Regions from separate parts of the Homo sapiens genome. Here region 1 is linked to region 2. The links are contacts of gene promoters, found by promoter capture Hi-C in blood cells and fetal thymus (Javierre and others, 2016). All regions are on one chromosome and are shown on one strand. The core of a region is centred on a gene start or on the middle of the fragment in contact, and the rest is flanking DNA. Distances in the headings are between cores, read along the strand shown.

Region 1 (2,816 bases), core at 309-2,808, 560 kb before region 2:
GGTGCAGGAGGCCCCGGCGGCGAGGGCCTGTTCCGCGGCTGCGGGGTCGAGGAGCCGAAGCGGGCACGGCCCGTGAGCGCCGCGAGGAGGCCCTCGGGCCCCGGCCCGGCCCGGCGCTCACCTGCAGCACCACCTCTACGTCGTACGAGTTCCCCTTGCTCTTCTGGTGGCCGCGGAACTTGGAGCCGCTGTAGAGCAGGCTGGTGGCCACGCCGGGCTGCTGGGTGTTGATGGGCGGCGGCGGGATGAGTGAGGCCGCGGAGGCAGCGGAGGCACCGGCCGGCGGGGGACACTCGGTGCGGACCGGCATCGCGGGGTCCCCCGGAGCCAGGGCTGGGGGGAGTGGGAGAGGAACCGCCGCCGCCGCGCGGGAGCCGAGGAGGGTGGCGGGGAGGGAGAGGCCGGGGCGCGCACGCGCGGGGTGGGGGCGGGAGGGGCGACCACCCGCCCGCTGCCTGCGGAGCAAGCGCTCCGGCCGCCACCGGGACCCAGGGACCTGCGAGCAGGGCCTCCCAGTCCTGAGCTGGGTCCCCCTCCCGACTTGCCCTCGCGCACACATACACACACACAGACACTCACAGACACACAACACACAAACACACACAGACACACACACACCCCGCCCCTTCCGATTGGCTCAGGCGAGCCTGGGGGGCGGGAGCAGGCTCAGGCGGCGCTTCCGCCCATTGGCGGGAGGAGAAAACACGTGGCGCGGTGCGCGAGCGGCCCGCTGGGACTTGTAGTCTCCTCGCCGAGGCGCGGCGTGGAGGGGGCGGGGCGAGGTGCGTTTGTGATGCTGATTGACTGGGGGTGTGCGCAGGAGGCGCGCGGCGGCGACGGCGCGCCGTAGGTGTCATGCGGAAGATGGCGGCGTCCAAGGGAGGTTGAGGGCTCTGAGGAGGCGTTGAGAGGTTTCCGTACAGCCCGACCGTGCGGCTTTGGGGATCCCATCGCTCTGTGTTTCCTGCTCCAGGTTTCGCGTCTCGCATCTTCCCAGACCCTCGGGCGCGATGTGGAGGAGCTGCCTCCGGCTGCGGGACGGGGGACGCCGTCTCCTGAATCGGCCGGCGGGTGGCCCCAGCGCTTCTATGAGTCCGGGGCCAACCATCCCGTCTCCAGCCCGGGCTTACGCCCCGCCGACAGGTAAGACCATGACATGTTCTTTTGGGTTGGGGCCGAGCTGGGGTAAGGTGGGCTTCGGGCTTCGGCTGTGCAAAGCGAAGTAACTGAGGCAGGGTTCAGGCTCATGAGGTTATGCAGGCCAGTCAGGTCTTTTTACAGATGAGAAAGTGAAGCCCAGACAAGGGCAGACGACCCGAGAGGGAACAGCGAGTCACGCACGATACAGTAATTGATATTTGGCCTGTGCAGGTTTTCTCAAAGCTTATGGCTGCCCTCCCTTTAATAAGGAAAGCAGGTGTCATCTTTGTTTTCAAAAGGGGAAGTTTGGGCTCTGAATCAGGACTTCGTCTGGGTTACAGGCAGACTCTCTCAGAGGTTTGTGGTGTCTGTCTGACTGTTTTCCGTGTCTCCACTGCCCAACACAAGACCTGCCCAGAAGGGACCTAGAACCTGGGCCTTCATTCCTCCATCCCGGGCACTTCTGCTGCAGGTTTCCTGACTTTCCCTCCTACCACAACCTCTGCCATCTGCAGCCTTCTCTCCTAAATAGAAATTGACACCTCCACCTCTGACTGTGGAGTCACCTCCACCTCCAACTCTGATGAAGCTTAGAAGTAGTGGCTCTTTCATTGCTGATGGTGAGTGGTGTCAGGGTAAGAGTGAGAATGACTCATTTCAGTGAATGAAGAGCAGTAACACCCTCCCACCATTCAATTAGTTTTATTGTGCTGGAGGCAGGAGGCACGGTTGTCTTTAAGACCCACCTGTATGTATTGGTAGAGAAGCTCAATTAAAGAAGAAAAAGGCCCACCTGAATGATGTTCACTGTTCATTGCAAAAGGTTATAATATTCTGATTAAATTGTGGTTTATAATATCCTGATAAGGGACATACAAAGAAACTGTGAGAACACAGAGAATCGCTTACTCCCATCTTGGGGATGTTCAGGGTTTAGAATGGGTCTTGGGTGAAAGGGCGTTTGTTTAAGCTGAGCCATGATAGATGAGTAGGAGTTCAGCAAAAAGGTGGGAGAGTGTTGGGTATCTAGAACGTGTCCAGGGTGACAGCAAGGTATGAGGGACTTTTCCCTGACACTGCCTGTTTTAGAAAATCCAGAACTTCACAGGCAGTTTGGCATTGTGGCAGGAGTGCAAATCTAGGATCTGATGCTGGCTGAACCTCTGAGGTCTGTGTGATCTTGGGCATGCAACTACTTCCTCATTTTTCTCCATGCGTTGAAGTACTAGGTTGCCTTTGAGGATCTTTCTGGCTGTCAAGTTCTTTTTTTTTCTTCTTCTTCTGTTTTTTTGTGTTTTTTTGAGACGGAGTCTCCTCTGTCACAGAGGCTGGAGTGCAGTGGCACCATCTCGGCTCACTGCAACCTCCGCCTCCCAGATTCAAGCGATTTTGTGGTCTCAGCCTCCCAAGTAGGTGGGACTACAGGCGTCTGCCACCATGCCCTGCTAATTTTTGTATTTTTAGTAGAGATGGGGTTTATATTGACTAGGCTGGTCTCGAACTCCTGACTTTGTGACCCGCCCACCTCGGCCTCCCAAAGTGCTGGGATTACAGGCGTGAGCCACCGCGCCCAGCCAAGTTCTATAACTTTATAGAAATGGGGAAGGGGGCTGGATGCAGCAGGGAGCTGAAGTTTCACCTGCAGGACTCAGGGGAAGGGCCTGGAAATGGGCCAT
Region 2 (2,963 bases), core at 236-2,735:
AGAGCATCAGGTCATCCCACAGCAAGTGAATCTAATTTGCTTAAACTCAAAAGTGGGTGGGCCACTAACAGTCAAGACCTTCACGTTGTAACAATTCCATTTCAGTAAAACAGTGAAGAGCACATTCATGTTCACCTGAATGTTACTGGAATCGTAATTTTCTTTTAATTTACTTTGTTTTGGTCTTTAATGGTTGAGTAAGAGTTACAAGCCTAGGGGTTTACACCTAGTATCACGTGGATATACAGTGAAGTAACATAATGAAAATAATTTACAGCCTGGGCAACATGGTGAAACTCCATCTCTACAAAAAATACAAAAATTCGCTGGGTGCCATGGCTCATGCCTGTGGTTCCGGTTACTTGGGAGGATGAGGTGGGAGGATGGCTTGAGGCCAGGAGGTTGAGGCTGCAGTGAGCCGAGATCACGCCACTGTACTCCAGTCTGGGTGACAGAGCGAGACCCTCTCTCAAAAAAAATAATAATTTAGGCAAACATAAGGATCAGTGAGACTTTTGTGTTTTTGTTTTTGGTTTTTCCTCTACAGAGTCACTTTGAAAACTCAGGCTACCCTGAAGGCTGGCCAAAAGGATGACAACAATTATTTCCTTTGGTACTGTTAGAACAAAGTCAGTACAAGTGGGTCTAATCATCTGAGGCAACTTCTGTGTTTCTGCTTAGTCTAATGTTTCCCATCGCCACCACTCCCGTCTCAATCTTTTTGAATTGTGGGTTATTCCCAATCATGTCTTTTTTTCCTTCTATCTAAACCTTTGGGGGTGAAAAGTTGGCCCCTTTTACTGCGTCCATCCCGTAGCACTTGGCACAGGGAAGATGATGCTTATCTGTTGAGTTTGCTGAACTAAGGAACTAAAGTGAGTATTACCAACATTAAAGGTGAGAAAACTGAGGCTTAAAGAGATTTAATTTGCTCAAGATCGCTGGGATGAACATTTGAGCCGCTGGACAAGAGTCTGCATTTAGTCTCTAAGCTGGCTTCATTCTTAAGGATATCGCACCTCTCGAGGCTCAAATCGTTTGCTTAACTCATGGAATGTCTCTGTGGTCTTGGGAAAGGCCTCTTCCCGCTCTGGGTCTGAGTTTCCCCATCTGTGAAACGGGGGCGTGCCCCAGAGCGCCAAGGCCTCTTGCAGCTCTGAAACGGCTGAGAGGAGAAGCTGGAGGGAGTATGGGGCCTGGTCCTCTCCTAGGTTCTTACCATTTGATGATGTTGTGAACCAAAGGTAAAAAGGAGTAGTTCTCTTCCTCCCTCGCGCGGGCAGGTGACTGAGGCCGTGGCGCCGGCGACTGCTGCGGTTGAGGCGCAGGGACCGGCGGCGGCTGAGGAGGCGGCAGCGGCTTGGTGTCAGGCAGCGGCTGGTCGGACGTTGGCGGCAATACATCCTCCGCCTGTCGCCCGGCTGCCACCCCAGCAGAGGCCATGGCTCCGGGGGTAGGTTAGCCAGAGGTCGGGTCGCCAAAAGCGTCGCGCACTCTACACGTCACCACCGCGCGCCCTGCAGGGGCGGGGTGTGGAGGAAGGCTCTGAGCGTGCGCACTGGGCAGTCGGCGGGAAAAGGCGCGGAGGCGGGGGTGGGGAGGCTGTTGCTAGGCAACGGGCCGTGGGTGGGTCTGGGGTGCCTGGATTTGGATTGTGAGTCAAGATTGCTAAATTATTAAATAGTGAGAAATAGGGGTTTATTTCAGAAATAACAATCTTTTTTTTTTTTTTGAGACGGAATTTCGCTCTTGTTGCCCAGGCTGGAGTGCAGTGGCGCGATCTCGGCTCACCGCAACCTCCGCCTCCCGGGTTCAAGCGATTCTCCTGCCTCAGCCTCCCTAGTAGCTGGGATTACAGGCATGCACCACCACGCCCGGCTAATTTTATATTTTTAGTAGAGACGGGGTTTCTCCATGTTGATCAGGCTGGTCTCGAACTCCCCACCTCAGGTGATCCGCCCGTCTCGGCCTCCCAAAGTGCTGGGATTACAGGCGTGAGCCACTGCACCCGGCCAGAAATAACAATCTTCTTATTCCTATTCACACGATGAAGAGGGCCCCAAAGCCACAAACACAGGAAGCCTTGAGATTAGTAAGGTGCAGCCTGGCCCAGTGCACCCAAGTCTGGAGAGGAGCCACTGGACCTGTGGGAGGCGTAGACAGCACTTACCTGCTGGGTGAGGCACCAAACCCGGCCCAGCCCACAGTGCAAGACATCGAGACCTCGAGTTTAGCCCTAAGGACGCAGAGGCAAAGGGATTGCGGTCCCTTCAATGCTGCAAGGTTGCTTAGAAAGAGTCTAATAATTCAACTCAACACACATTTAGTATGCACCTGCTGGATGGCCACCTGTATGTGTGGTTGCAGGCAGGCTGTCCTTGCTTTCAGTACAAGGTAGAGGGGATTGGTGCCAGGAGTAAATATCATATCCTGGAAGAACGACAAGGTCAGGTACTCTCCATACCTTCGGGCCAGTTCCCCAAGCCCCTAGGTCCCAGTTTCCTCACCCCTAAAATCATATTTAGTTCAGATTCATGGCACAGCCTAAACTGCATTCTAACTTCACATGCGTGGCTGACCCCAAAAGGTCTTGTTGGCATGAGGACTCCCTAGGATCATAGGCCAAAGATGGGTTTATGGTTATGCTTCTCAAAACAAGTTTGATATGAGGGCTGTGTAGTAATTTTCCGGGCAATGGGGACACCCACCCCAAGCTTAGCTAGTGAGTAGAAGACATGAGTGGGGAAAGCTGTCAACTGGTGAGCCCATTCTGCTGTAATCCACCATCATGGGCAGTACAGAGAGGCGAGGAGGTCCACATCCACATAGCATGATGAACAGGAGCCTTAAGAGCAAGGTGGCCAGGGAAAGGATCAATGCTGATATTTTCAGGCACATTGGGAGGGCTGTGCGGAGGCAGATCCTTGGGGAGTAGGACCATAGATGGAAGTGCTGTTGGAGGG

Evidence for each region. Contacts are between HindIII fragments. The CHiCAGO score rates a contact against its expected background, and 5 or more counts as called.
Region 1: a contact is called between a fragment that was not itself captured here and the fragment with the promoter of MED9 in region 2, in 5 of 17 cell types (total CD8 T cells, fetal thymus, total B cells and 2 more). The highest score is 7.6, in total CD8 T cells.

The regions. Positions count from the first base shown.
Region 1 is chr17:18,037,208-18,040,023 of GRCh38, reverse strand. It overlaps ATPAF2 (ATP synthase mitochondrial F1 complex assembly factor 2), which reads left to right and starts at 856. Exons shown (of 8, transcript NM_145691.4): 1 at 856-1,143. The coding sequence starts at 1,011. GID4 (GID complex subunit 4 homolog) reads right to left here and starts at 616. Exons shown (of 6, transcript NM_024052.5): 1 at 122-616. The coding sequence starts at 559. RefSeq lists silencers at 18-607, 618-707 and enhancers at 818-927, 1,068-1,117, 1,128-1,197. The HindIII fragment of the contact is 346 bases long and covers 1,386-1,731 here.
Region 2 is chr17:17,475,522-17,478,484 of GRCh38, reverse strand. It overlaps MED9 (mediator complex subunit 9), which reads right to left and starts at 1,485. Exons shown (of 2, transcript NM_018019.3): 1 at 1,220-1,485. The coding sequence starts at 1,443. RefSeq lists an enhancer at 1,382-1,481. The HindIII fragment of the contact is 9,122 bases long and covers 1-2,716 here.